Linked DNA regions of Homo sapiens: regions 2, 3 and 4 are each linked to region 1. The links are contacts of gene promoters, found by promoter capture Hi-C in blood cells and fetal thymus (Javierre and others, 2016). All regions are on one chromosome and are shown on one strand. The core of a region is centred on a gene start or on the middle of the fragment in contact, and the rest is flanking DNA. Distances in the headings are between cores, read along the strand shown. Region 1 holds the start of TOMM5 (translocase of outer mitochondrial membrane 5). Region 2 has its middle 97 kb from the start of ALDH1B1. Region 3 overlaps LOC107987065 (a long non-coding RNA gene). Region 4 overlaps PAX5 (paired box 5).

The links. Contacts are between HindIII fragments. The CHiCAGO score rates a contact against its expected background, and 5 or more counts as called.
Region 2: a fragment that was not itself captured here is called in contact with the fragment with the promoter of TOMM5 in region 1 in 1 of 17 cell types (M2 macrophages); the score reaches 5.9 in M2 macrophages.
Region 3: a fragment that was not itself captured here is called in contact with the fragment with the promoter of TOMM5 in region 1 in 1 of 17 cell types (M2 macrophages); the score reaches 6.4 in M2 macrophages.
Region 4: a fragment that was not itself captured here is called in contact with the fragment with the promoter of TOMM5 in region 1 in 1 of 17 cell types (naive B cells); the score reaches 5.1 in naive B cells.

The regions. Positions count from the first base shown.
Region 1 is chr9:37,591,335-37,594,195 of GRCh38, reverse strand. It overlaps TOMM5 (translocase of outer mitochondrial membrane 5), which reads left to right and starts at 1,599. Exons shown (of 2, transcript NM_001001790.3): 1 at 1,599-1,784. The coding sequence starts at 1,664. RefSeq lists a silencer at 1-284 and an enhancer at 1,243-2,002. The HindIII fragment of the contact is 19,627 bases long and covers 1-2,861 here.
Region 2 is chr9:38,294,647-38,297,596 of GRCh38, reverse strand. No RefSeq gene overlaps it. Among named protein-coding and RNA genes, the nearest start is that of ALDH1B1, 97 kb to the left of the region's middle. The HindIII fragment of the contact is 3,642 bases long and covers 1-2,950 here.
Region 3 is chr9:38,365,139-38,367,838 of GRCh38, reverse strand. The region is part of intron 1 of LOC107987065 (a long non-coding RNA gene); the gene reads right to left. LOC105376040 (a long non-coding RNA gene) reads left to right here. Exons shown (of 4, transcript XR_929605.1): 3 at 1-116. Among named protein-coding and RNA genes, the nearest start is that of ALDH1B1, 26 kb to the left of the region's middle. The HindIII fragment of the contact is 487 bases long and covers 1,037-1,523 here.
Region 4 is chr9:36,859,201-36,861,900 of GRCh38, reverse strand. The region is part of intron 8 of PAX5 (paired box 5); the gene reads left to right. Among named protein-coding and RNA genes, the nearest start is that of MIR4540, 3.8 kb to the left of the region's middle. The HindIII fragment of the contact is 257 bases long and covers 1,284-1,540 here.

The DNA of each region.
Region 1 (2,861 bases), core at 350-2,849:
GTTTGGATGCTTCTGTGACAGGAAATCTGGTTGCATCAAACTCTTGACTCTAGCGATGTCCATCCATGTGGGCACTAACTGTTAAAGACTAACAGATGAGCAGTAGGGTGCAGGGGAAAGATAATTCAACTTGACATGATAATTATCTGCATTAGAACCCTGCCCGTGCATCACCAGCAGAATGACTAGACTTTAGTGCACTTTAGACTTCAGCTGCGATGTTCCAGATAAAGGGCTTCACACCAAAGCTGGACTTGGTTTCTGAGCCTCTTTCTATTCATCTGTAAAATGCTGATCAGATTTGAACTTGCTTTATACATATTGTGTTACTTGGCTAACAGTATTTTAAAGACCTCTGTGCTTCAATAATCTGTAAAAAGGCCAGGTGCGGTGGCTCATGCCTGTAATCACGGCACTTTTGGGGGCCGAGGTGGGCAGATCACCTGAGATCAGGAGTTTCCAAGACCAGCCTGGCCAACATGGTGAAACCGCGTCTCTACAAAAAATACAAAATTTAGCCAGGCGTGGTGCTGCGCAACCGTAATCCCAGCTACTCAGGAGGCTGAGGCAGGAGAATCACTTGAACCTGGGAAGCAGCGGTTGCAGTGAGCTGAAATTGCGCCACTGCACTCCAGCCTGGGCGGCAGAGCGAGACTCTGTCTCCAAAAAAAAAAAAAAAAAAAAAAAAGTTTCATCTTTGTCTCTTTGTTTTAACTTATGTAAAGTTTCAAACATACTCAAGAAAGACTAGAATAATTAACTAAAATGAAGTACTAGTCACCAGCAGTTTTTAATATTTTGCTGACATCACTTATCTCTCTCAATACTTTTTTCCCCCTCTGAGGTATTTTTAAGCACATTTGGGGGCCAGGCGCGATAGCTCACGCCTGTAATCCCAGCACTTTGGGAGGCCGAGGCGGGAGGATCGCTTGGATCCTGGAACCCAGGAGTTCCAGAACAGTCTCAACCACCACAATTAGCAATAAAAAAATAAATAAAAATTAAAGCACATTTGGGCAAGATGTTTTAAAGATCTCTGTGCTTCAATTGTCTAATCTAGGAAACGAAGATTATAATATCGAATTCACGGGGGACAATTATATTGAATATTCAATAAATGTTAGTTATCACTGTTTACAGTGGTACCTATGTGCACAGCCCCCTCCAGCGCGTAAAAGCACTTTACAGCGCAGCGCTCCAGGCTCAAGATAGATGTTATTGTTGTTGTTATTATTATTATTATTATTATTATTTTGAGACGGAGTCTCGCTCGCTCTGTCGCCCAGGCTGGAGCGCAGTGGCGCGATCTCGGCTAACTGCAACATCCCCCTCCTGGGTTCAAGCGATTTTCCTGCCTCAGCCTCCCGAGTAGCTGGGATTGTAAGCACGCGCCACCGAGCCGGGCTGATTTTTGTATGACAGATGTTATTAAAGACAGCGTGGAGAAACCAGAGCCTGCGTTGCTGAGCTTGCGGCCGCCCGCTTCACACCGCACTTCAGATCAGCTGGGTCAGGACGTGGATTGTCCCGTGCAGGCATCCATCGTCGAGTGTGGCAACGAGAGGGCGGGAACAGGAAGTGAGGATAGGCCGAGTTCCGGGCGCGAGGCGGCCACCGTGGAGAGCAGAGCGCGGCGGCTGGAAGCTGCTAAGTCAGAGCCGCGATGTTCCGGATTGAGGGCCTCGCGCCGAAGCTGGACCCGGAGGAGATGAAACGGAAGATGCGCGAGGATGTGATCTCCTCCATACGGAACTTTCTCATCTACGTGGCCCTCCTGCGAGTCAGTGAGTGTCTCCCGGGCTGTGACTGTGAGACCAGCGGGGAGCTCACCGACGGGCACCCCTTAACTCTAAGGGGTCATCGGGGCCTTCGAACTGAGCTGAACGGTAGCGGGGAGCAAGGAGGGTGCGCGTTGAAGGCGACGGGCATATGCGCGGTTTGAGGTCTGCGGGTCAGGGTCCGGGCACTGAAGTGCACGTGGTGGCCGGCGCGCGTGTTTAATCATCCTGGTTCTCCCAGCTTGAAGAATGTTTGAGCTGCCGGGCGCGTTGGCTCACACCTGTAATCCCACCCAGCACTTTGTGAAGCCGAGGCGGGCGGATCATTTGGGGTCAGGAGTTCGTGGTGGCGGGCGCCTGTAATCCCAGCTCCTCGGGAGGCTAAGGTGGGAGGATTGCTTGAATCCAGGAGGCGGAGGTTGCAGTGAGCCGAGATCGCGACACTGCACTCCAGCTTGAGTGACAGAGCAAGACTCCATCTCAAAAAAAAGAATGTTTGAGCTGAAAGAGCTCAAGTAATTATCCCTAGAGGAACTCCCTCGTTTTTGCAGACAGAGAAACAGAGAAACAGAACCATAGTTCTAGAAGGAAGAAACAGCCTTCTTGGGAAGGCTGGCCAAAGGTCACTCAGCGATTCAGTGAATGATCTTGACCTAAAATCCAGAACTCTTAACTCAGTACCAGGTTCCTTCCCTTTCTTTTCTTTTCTTTTTTTTTTTTTTCCTCGATACACAGTCACGCCCTGTTGCCCAGGCTGGAGTGCAGTGGCGCAGTCTTGGCTCACTGCAACCTCTGCCTCCCGAGTTCAAGCCATTCTCCCACCTCAGCCTCCCAAGTAGCTGAGATTACAGGCGCGCGCCACCACGCCCGGCTAATTTTTGTATTTTTAGTAGAGATGGGTGTTTAACCATGTTGGCCAGGCCGGTCTCGAACTCCTGACCTCAGGTGATCCACCTGCCTCAGCCTCCCAAAGTGCTGGGATTACAGGCGTGAACCAGCGGCCGGGTTCCTTCCCTTTCAAAAGTGCTGACCTTTGAAATCCAAAAAGTTTTGCTTCATTTCTGTTTCTTTGTATAGAGGGTG
Region 2 (2,950 bases), core at 82-2,581, 700 kb before region 1:
GAAGTCATTAATTCCCTTTTAAAATCCCCTTGACATCTCCTTAAATGTGTGTGTAATAAAACACCAGAGCAATAAGGTAACCAGCCCAAAGTCACACAGCCGGGATCCGGCCAGGCCAAATTGGAACCTGAGTCTGCAAATTCCTAATCCCAGTTCTGCCTCTTTCCTACCAGTGGAACTTGGCTGGTCTCTTCTATCCCAAAGACCCCACAGTTTTCTTTTCTTCATGACGAGAGGGTCATGCCAGATCAGTTCTTGACCTTTGAGAATTGATGAAAGCAATGAACTGTAACCCCTTTGTGTGTGCTGGAAATGCACACATGCACAGAAACGTTTACACATAATTTCATGGGTTCACAGACCCCATAAAACCCAGCCACAGATTAAGAGGCCCTAAACTCCCCAAAGGCCTTGCCAGCTCTCATAGTCTCTGGATGGTTTATGTTTCACCCACTGACACTGGTTTTATGAAGTGGCAAAATTTTTTCCACTCATTTTTCAAAGTCTCAGCCTCACCTCCTCTCCCCAGCCCAGTTGGAAGCAGTTTCTCCCTGCAGTGAAACCCTATTAGCCCCCAGACCCCAGAGCCCTGCCAGAATGTGGCTGTCACACTGAGTCCCAGTCCTGATTTATTCTCCATGGTGTCTCTCTGGATGAGAAGTTATGCATAACAGCAGGACTCAGCCCCTGATAGAAGAAATGGCCAAGTTCAATCCTTAACAAATAAAAGCACTGCCGTTCAGTAATTCCCAGGGTTGATGGAAAATGTGATTTCCTTGCCACAGCAAATGTGGAAGGCGGGAGATGTAAAGATGCTCCCACTTTGGTCTATGGAAGAAACCGTAACAACATAAATCAGTGAGATAGATAACCTTCTCCTCTATTCATTATCTGGGCAGGCCAGAGCTAATGTGTTTGTTTTTTAAATCCTCTGTTGTCAGCCACCCTTCCCCCTCAAGGATGCCTGCACTTTTCTGAAACCCACGAGGAGCATTGCAGCAAAGAAATAGAACTTTCAGTTTCTGGAGATTATACTGATTCTCCAGGATCTTAAAGGTTAGGCTGAGAACTTTATCCTGTGGGTCAGTGAGTTTTATCTAGGGGCATCTAGGTGCAGACCCCTGATGAAGCAGCTGCTGAGGGTGTTAGAACCAGGGTCTCATGCTAGAAAGATCATTCTGGCTCTGGATGGGAGCCCATCAGAGGGGCCAAGAGGGATAGGGGTACAGGCAGGTAGGGGGCTGTGGGAGAAGCCTGATGCAGTCAGGGGAGAGGGTTGAGAAGTCTAGGGAGATGTCTCCTCTTGTTCCCTATTGTTTCCACAATGGGGATGGCAGTGTGCTCACTAAAACTAGATGCAGATAAGACACTGCCCCTCTGAAGGTAGGAGCGTCCAAGGAGATGAAAGGGGAAGCAGTTGGGCGGAGCTTCTTGGAAGACGCTTTAGAAGAGGCTTCTAAACCAGTGGTGTCTTTTTGCCCTTCTCCATGTCTTTTTTCTTCCTGTCTAGAATGCAGATGAGATGGCCAGTGCTACAGCTGCCTTCTTGCAACCACAAGGGAAAGGCTAAGAGAACCAGAGACTTCAGCTAGGACATGCTTAAGCTGCTGAGTCAATGCAAGACACTGCCTGCTTCTAGACTCATTATGTGAGAAAAATCCCTGCAGGGCATCAAGTGGAGAAGTTACGTAGGTAGGTGGATTAATACATCTGGCACTCTGGAGAGTCATCACATGGGGTTAATGGAAGACACGAGGGTGGGCAAGATGGTGCAGGGAGTGGATAGATTAGATAGATAGATAGATAGATAGATAGATAGATAGATAGATAGATAGATGATAGATGATAAATAGATGAATAGACAGATGTTGATTGATTGATAGACGAATGGATAGACAGGTGATAGAGATGAATGAATGAATAAATGAATAGATAGATAATAAATGAATGGGTAGGTAAATAATAGATAGACATAGATAATATAGATGGATGATAGCTGATATAGATACTAGATGATGGATGAACGGATAGATTATATAGACAGATAATAGATGGATGAATATATGATAGATGATATTGATAGATGATAGAAGATATTGATAGAGGATAAATGATAGAGAAAGTGAGAGAGAGAGAGGATAGATAGAAAAGAAGATGGTCCTGGAGAACACCAATCTTCAAGGAATAGGCTGAGGAAAACGTGTCTGCAGAGATAAAACAGCCAGAAAAAGAGAGTACATTTGGATACTGTGGAGTCCCAGGAGCAAGGGAGGATATGGACTCTGGTAGTGGTGAGTGGTCAACAGTACAAATGACAGAGAGGGCCAGAGGCTGACACCAGAGAAAGGGACTTGGCAGTGATCCCAACAAGGACTAAAGGGAGAGCCCTGATAATTCCACCCTGAAATGTCAGTGCTGGTCTGTCCAAGGGTTCTACTGTACCCTCCAGGCCCTCTCTGTGGGGCTGTGGGCACAGGATGGTGGCTACCAGAAGTCCACATAGAGAACAAGAAAATGCAGAGGGAATACTTCCTTACCCCACTGCCTTGACTGGGATCTTTTTGGACATGGTTACTGTGACATGCTTCTCCCTGTTTCCAGCCTATGTTCAGATGTGCTTGTTGACCTTGTTAGATTTGATTCTTCTTTGCTCAGAGGGTGTGTGGCTTGGGTGTTCAACACCAGCTCTGTCCCAGTGCTCTGTGGGGCTTTAGGCAACTGGTTCAGCAAGTTGAAGGCAGAGCTCAGGCCTTCTGATTCCAAATTCTTCAGACCACCAAACCCACGTGTGGAATATTTCCTAAGTCTGGGTTTTAACGAGCACATCAAAATTGGCATGCCGCCGACAGTTTGCTGGCTTGGAGAGGGAACCAGGATATTTTTTGCAAATTGGGTACTCTATCATGTAGAAAAACTTCTTTTCAGGAGGTAAAACATCTGGAGTTACATA
Region 3 (2,700 bases), core at 31-2,530, 770 kb before region 1:
AATCACTGGACCTGCCCACCCACTGTGCCCACTCTGACTTCTAAGGGATGACACTACTCCACATTCAGCCTCTGCTGCCCAGGCCTCCGTGTTCTTGCTCCAGGCTGGCTTTACAGGTATGAGACCTCTGCAGTTGTACAGGCACTTGATTTTTATGCTCTACTGTGGCTGTCTTGAAATTCCTAGTAATTTGGCCAGGCATGGTGGCTCACACCTGTAATCCCAGCACTTTGGGAGGCCAAGGTCGGCGGATCACCTGAGGTCAGGAGTTTGAGACCATCCTGGCCAATGTGGTGAAACCCCGTCTCTACTAAAAACACAAAAATTAACCAGGCACGATGGCGCACGCCTGTATTCCCAGCTACTTGAGAGGCTGAAGCAGGAGAATCACTTGAACCCAGAAGGCGGAGGTTGCAGTGAGCTGAGATCATGCCACTACATTCCAGCCTGGGCAACAGAGTGAGACCTGGTCTCAAAAGAAAAAAAAAATTCTTAATAATTTTACCCTTCAACCTGCTTTGTAGTGAAGTCTGATAGTACAATGGAGCCTGCACGTGAGCAGAGGATATATGCCAGGTGGTAAGGCATGCATGCGTGGGCTCAGGTCTGCAGGGACAGTGTACACTGTGCAGATCAAGCAGTTGGCCTTGCCACCTGAAGTGCATACACACTACACTTGGGGTGTGTCCAGGGTGTGGTAGGACCCTGAGGGGTGGCCAGGCCCAGGACCTGGGCTCATATTGGTGGCAGTGGTGGCAGGAGTCAGGCCCCAGGAGAGAGGAGATGTGGCTACACTGCAAACAAACCACCCTTGATGGCGAGTGAGCTCTTTGCCCTGCAGCAATATCATCAAGCCAGGTACCTAGGAGAGACTGAATGATGAGCTGCTTCCTTTCCAAGGGTGACCACCAGCAGGAGAATGTGCTATTGAGTGACTAACGTTATTTTCAGTTGTGTCCACTGAAAAATGGGGTTAGAAGTATAAATTTTGATGACCTAAAAAATGAATTTGTAGAAAAATGAGTCAAAGAAAGCTTATAATCAATCAAGATATTACTAAAGTATTATTGAAGGATATAGAAAAGAAGAAATAAGCAACTCCATAGACTCAAAACCTCAAAAACTACTACTATTTGGGTGTATTTCTCTCTAGATTTTGCTGTGCATATTTTGACACAATTTGAATAACATATATTCCATCAAGTGAATATACCATATTTGCTTTCCTTGACATTTATGTGGTTTCCAATTTTTTATATTAAGACTTTGCTTTACATCCTTGTGCATAATTGTACTTTTAAATAAACTGTTTCATTTCAAAAAAGCATAAAGTTTTTCATGAATTTCAAGTAATTTTTAAACCCAGAATCTCTGTTCTTTTTTCTCTATGGTCTTCTTAGGTGAGCCATTCACTCATGTGTTTGGTTATTTCAGTACTGACTTCTCCTTAACTTTATAATAATCAAATTTAATAGCTTAGATGAAATGGACAAATCCTTTGGAAGATGCAAACTACCCAAGCTTCACTCAGGAAGAAATAGATAACAACAATAACCCTATATCTATTAAACAAATTGAATTTAAGATTGAAAAGCTTCCAACAAAGGGAACTCCAGACTCAGATGGCTTTACTGGTGAATTCTAATACCAAGTCATTTGAGGAAGAAATAATGCCAGTTCTACACAAACTCTTACAGAAAATAGAAGAGGAGGAAACACTTCTCATTTTATAAGGCTGACATTTCCCTGATACCAAAAGCAGACAAAGACTCTCCAAAAAAAGGAGAAAACTACAGTCTAAAATTCTTTATGAATATAGATGCAAAAATCCTCAACAAAATATTATCAAAGCAAATTCAGCCGTGAACACAAAGAATAATTCATAATTGCCACATTGGGAAATAAACTAAATGTCTTTCAACTGGTGAATAAATAAGCAAACTGTGGTGCATTTATGCAATGGAATACTGCTCAGCAATAAAAAGGAAGACTCAAAAGGCTTCATACTGTAGTCCGCTATTTATATGACATTCTGGAAAAGGCAAAATTATAGGATCAGAAAATAGATGATTGATTGCCAGGATGGGGAGAAGGATGTCGATGGAGGCACATGCATAAGGGAATTTTTTGAGGTGATAGCATGGCTCTGTATCTTGATTGATGTAGTGGTCACATGACTGTATGTGTCAAAACTCACAGAACTGTATACCAAAAAGCATACATTGTATTATATGTAAATTATATGTAAATACAACATGCAAATAATACCTCATTTTAGTATATGTAAAGAATACCTTAATTTAAAAAAGAATTAAAAGGCCATCTATGCTTCCATTTATGATGTCCTGGAAAAGATAAAACTAAAGGGACATAAAATAGACCAGGATTGTAGGAGTTGGGGTGGAAAGAGGGGTCTGATTACAAAGAGGCAGGAAGCAGCACTTGGGGTGATGGAAATATGCTATGTCTTGATTATGGTGGTGGTTAAAGGCTGTGTGTGTTTCACAGATCTGTATACCTCAAGCTGGTGAATTTTAGTATATGTAAAACCTTAATACATCTAACTTTAAAAAGTCTTATGCCCCGGATCTCACATGACTGCTTGGTTTATCTATGGCAGCAATCCTTAAAAGGACATATGTATACATTTTTCTCAAGGCATTTATTTATGTCAAATTATCATCAAATGCCCTGCCTCCA
Region 4 (2,700 bases), core at 163-2,662, 730 kb after region 1:
CCCATTGCCAGTCATGACCCTTTAGTCTATTCACAACAACGTGGCTGCAGTGAGCCTGTGAAAATTGGAGTCAGGACACGTCCCTCCTGTGCACACTCAGAGTAGAGGCCAAAGTCCTGACCTATCTCCCACTCCCCACTTCCCTCCCTGGCCTTCTCTCCCCTCTCCCCACCCTGGCTTCTCTCCAGCCACATAGGCCTCCTGGCTGTCCTAGCCACACACCTCCCACACTCCTGCCCCAGGGCCTTTGCACTTGCTGTTCCTTCTGCTTAGAGGGCCCTTCCCACAGATATTCATATGGCAAACTCTTGCTACCTTCATTCTTTCTTCAAAAGTCACCTTTTCAGTGGAGTCATCCCCGGTCACTCCATCTAAAATTCCACCTCCTCCCAATATTTCTTATTCTGTCTCCTGCTTCATGTTTTCTCTTTAGCACCCATCATTATCTAGCATGCCGGACGCTTTGTTTTTACTTGTCTGGTTTACTGTTTTGTTTGTACCACTGGAATATAAGCTCCATGAGGGCAGGGACTGTTATCTGCTTTGTTCAGGGCTATATCCTCAGGACCTGGTACCTAGTAGGCCCTCAATCAGTATCTGATAGATGAATGGATGGATGAAATTGCGACTGTCTGCAGTGGGCCTGGTACCTAGTAGGCCCTCACTCAATATCTGATAGATGAATGGATGGATGAAATTGCGACTGTCTGCAGTGGACCTGGTGTCAAGGCAGATGCCACCAGGGCTCCTCAGGACATCTCTGGGCCCCTCCCACTGAGCCCTGCATTTGCCCTCTTAGGTGGTTTCTTCACTTATCTTTCCTTGGCCTCCCAAGATATCTTTCCTCCCCTCCTCTTCCCTCCCCTCCCCTCCTGCTGACTCCCTCCCTGCAGAGCCATCTCTCAGCCAGGTGTGTGGGCTGGTCACAGGGGATACATATGAAAGTGTAAATCTCCTAGAAAAAAATGGGTCTTCATCAGCACAGGACTGCATGGGGCTCCTGCCTTCTGGTCCAGCCTTGGGAGCTGTGAGGGTCATCCTAATTCAGCTCCCTCCATGGAATGGCCCTGTCAAGCTCACTGAGTCATGGTGGCGGCTGCCTTGTGGCCTGCCTGGAGTCTCCCATAGAAGCCAGCCCTTCTCAGTGGTTAGCTTATGGTGGCTGCCTGCTTAGAAGCCAGTCTCCTTAGGGGCCCCATTTCAGAGGCCGTGGGAACTGGACACCAGCATGCCTCTGAGGACGCTAGCGAAACTCTTTAACAAGGATCAGTGCTTCTCAAGCTTTATTGCACCCAAATCATCAGGGATCATCTCAGAGAGCAGATTCTGCTTCATAGAGTTGAGGGTGGGTGCAGGAGGCTTGTCCTCTAACATGCTGCACACTGAGTACCGAGTCCCTGCCCCCTGTCTCTCAAACTTGCTGTACATTGGCGTCACCTTGGAAGTTTCGACAAATATTACCATCTGCCTCCCCCCGCTTACTCCGAGCTCCCTGTGAACTAGTATGAGATATGGCCTGGTCATCTGGATTTTTAAAGCTTCCCAGATGATTTTTTTTTCTTTTTTGAGACAGTCTTGCTCTGTCACCCAGGCTGGAGTGCAGTGGTGCAATCTTGGCTCACTGCAACTTCTGCCTCCTGGGTTCAAGTGATTCTCCTCCCTCAGCCTCCTGAGTAGCTGGGATTACAGGCATGTGCCACCACGCCCGGCTAATTTTTCTATTTTTAGTAGAGATAGGATTTCACCATGTTGGTCAGGCTGGTCTCGAACTCCTGACCTCGTGATCTACCCGCCTCAGCCTCCCAGAATGCTGGAATTACAGGTGTGAGCCACTATGCCCGGCCCCCAGATGATTTTTTTTTTTTTGAGACAGAGCCTCACTCTGTCACCCAGGCTTGAGTGCAGTGGCGTGATCTCAGCTAACTGCAAGCTCCACCTCCCGGGTTCACACCATTCTCCTGCCTCAGCCTCCTGAGTAGCTGGGACTACAGGTGCCCACCACCATGCCTGGCTAATTTTTTTGTATTTTTAGTAGAGGTGGGGTTTCACCGTGTTAGCCAGGATGGTCTCGATCTCCTGACCTCGTGATCCACCTACCTCGGCCTCCCAAAGTGCTGGGATTACAGGTGTGAACCACTACACCCAGCCCCAGATGATTCTTAATGTGCAGCAAGGCTTGACAGCCACTGGCCTGGGTCACTGCATTATTCCTGCCCGCCTCCACCTCCCCTCAGGGCAGCTTTGCTGTAGGAGAGCAGTAAAACTTACAGGAATTTGCGGACACAGTGAGGAAGGGTGAGGAGCCGGGGAGGGAGGAGGGGGCACATCCCACTCTCAGTCAGCCTTGGGAGAGAGAACCCCAAAGGAATGAATGTCGGGTGCAGACGCTGAAGGAGAGGGGCCACTGAGACCCTGAGGCTGGCAGGGGGAGGGAGGGAGAGGCCCTGGGAGCTTTTTCAGCCAGAGGAGTGACCAGGAGAGCCGAAGCAGCTGGGTGGTCCAGCCTGGGTCTTTGGCTTCTTCCTTGACCCTGACTCTGTTAGGAGAAATAACTCTCCCTTCCCTACTTCAGCCCGGCCCGGCTTTCATACCTGTACAAACACACTGGCCCCAGCCTCCCAGGGTTGCAAGTAATTTATGTGCGCGCCTGCCCCTCCCGCAGACTGTGGGCTCTCCGTGGGCAGGGACCGTGTCTGATTC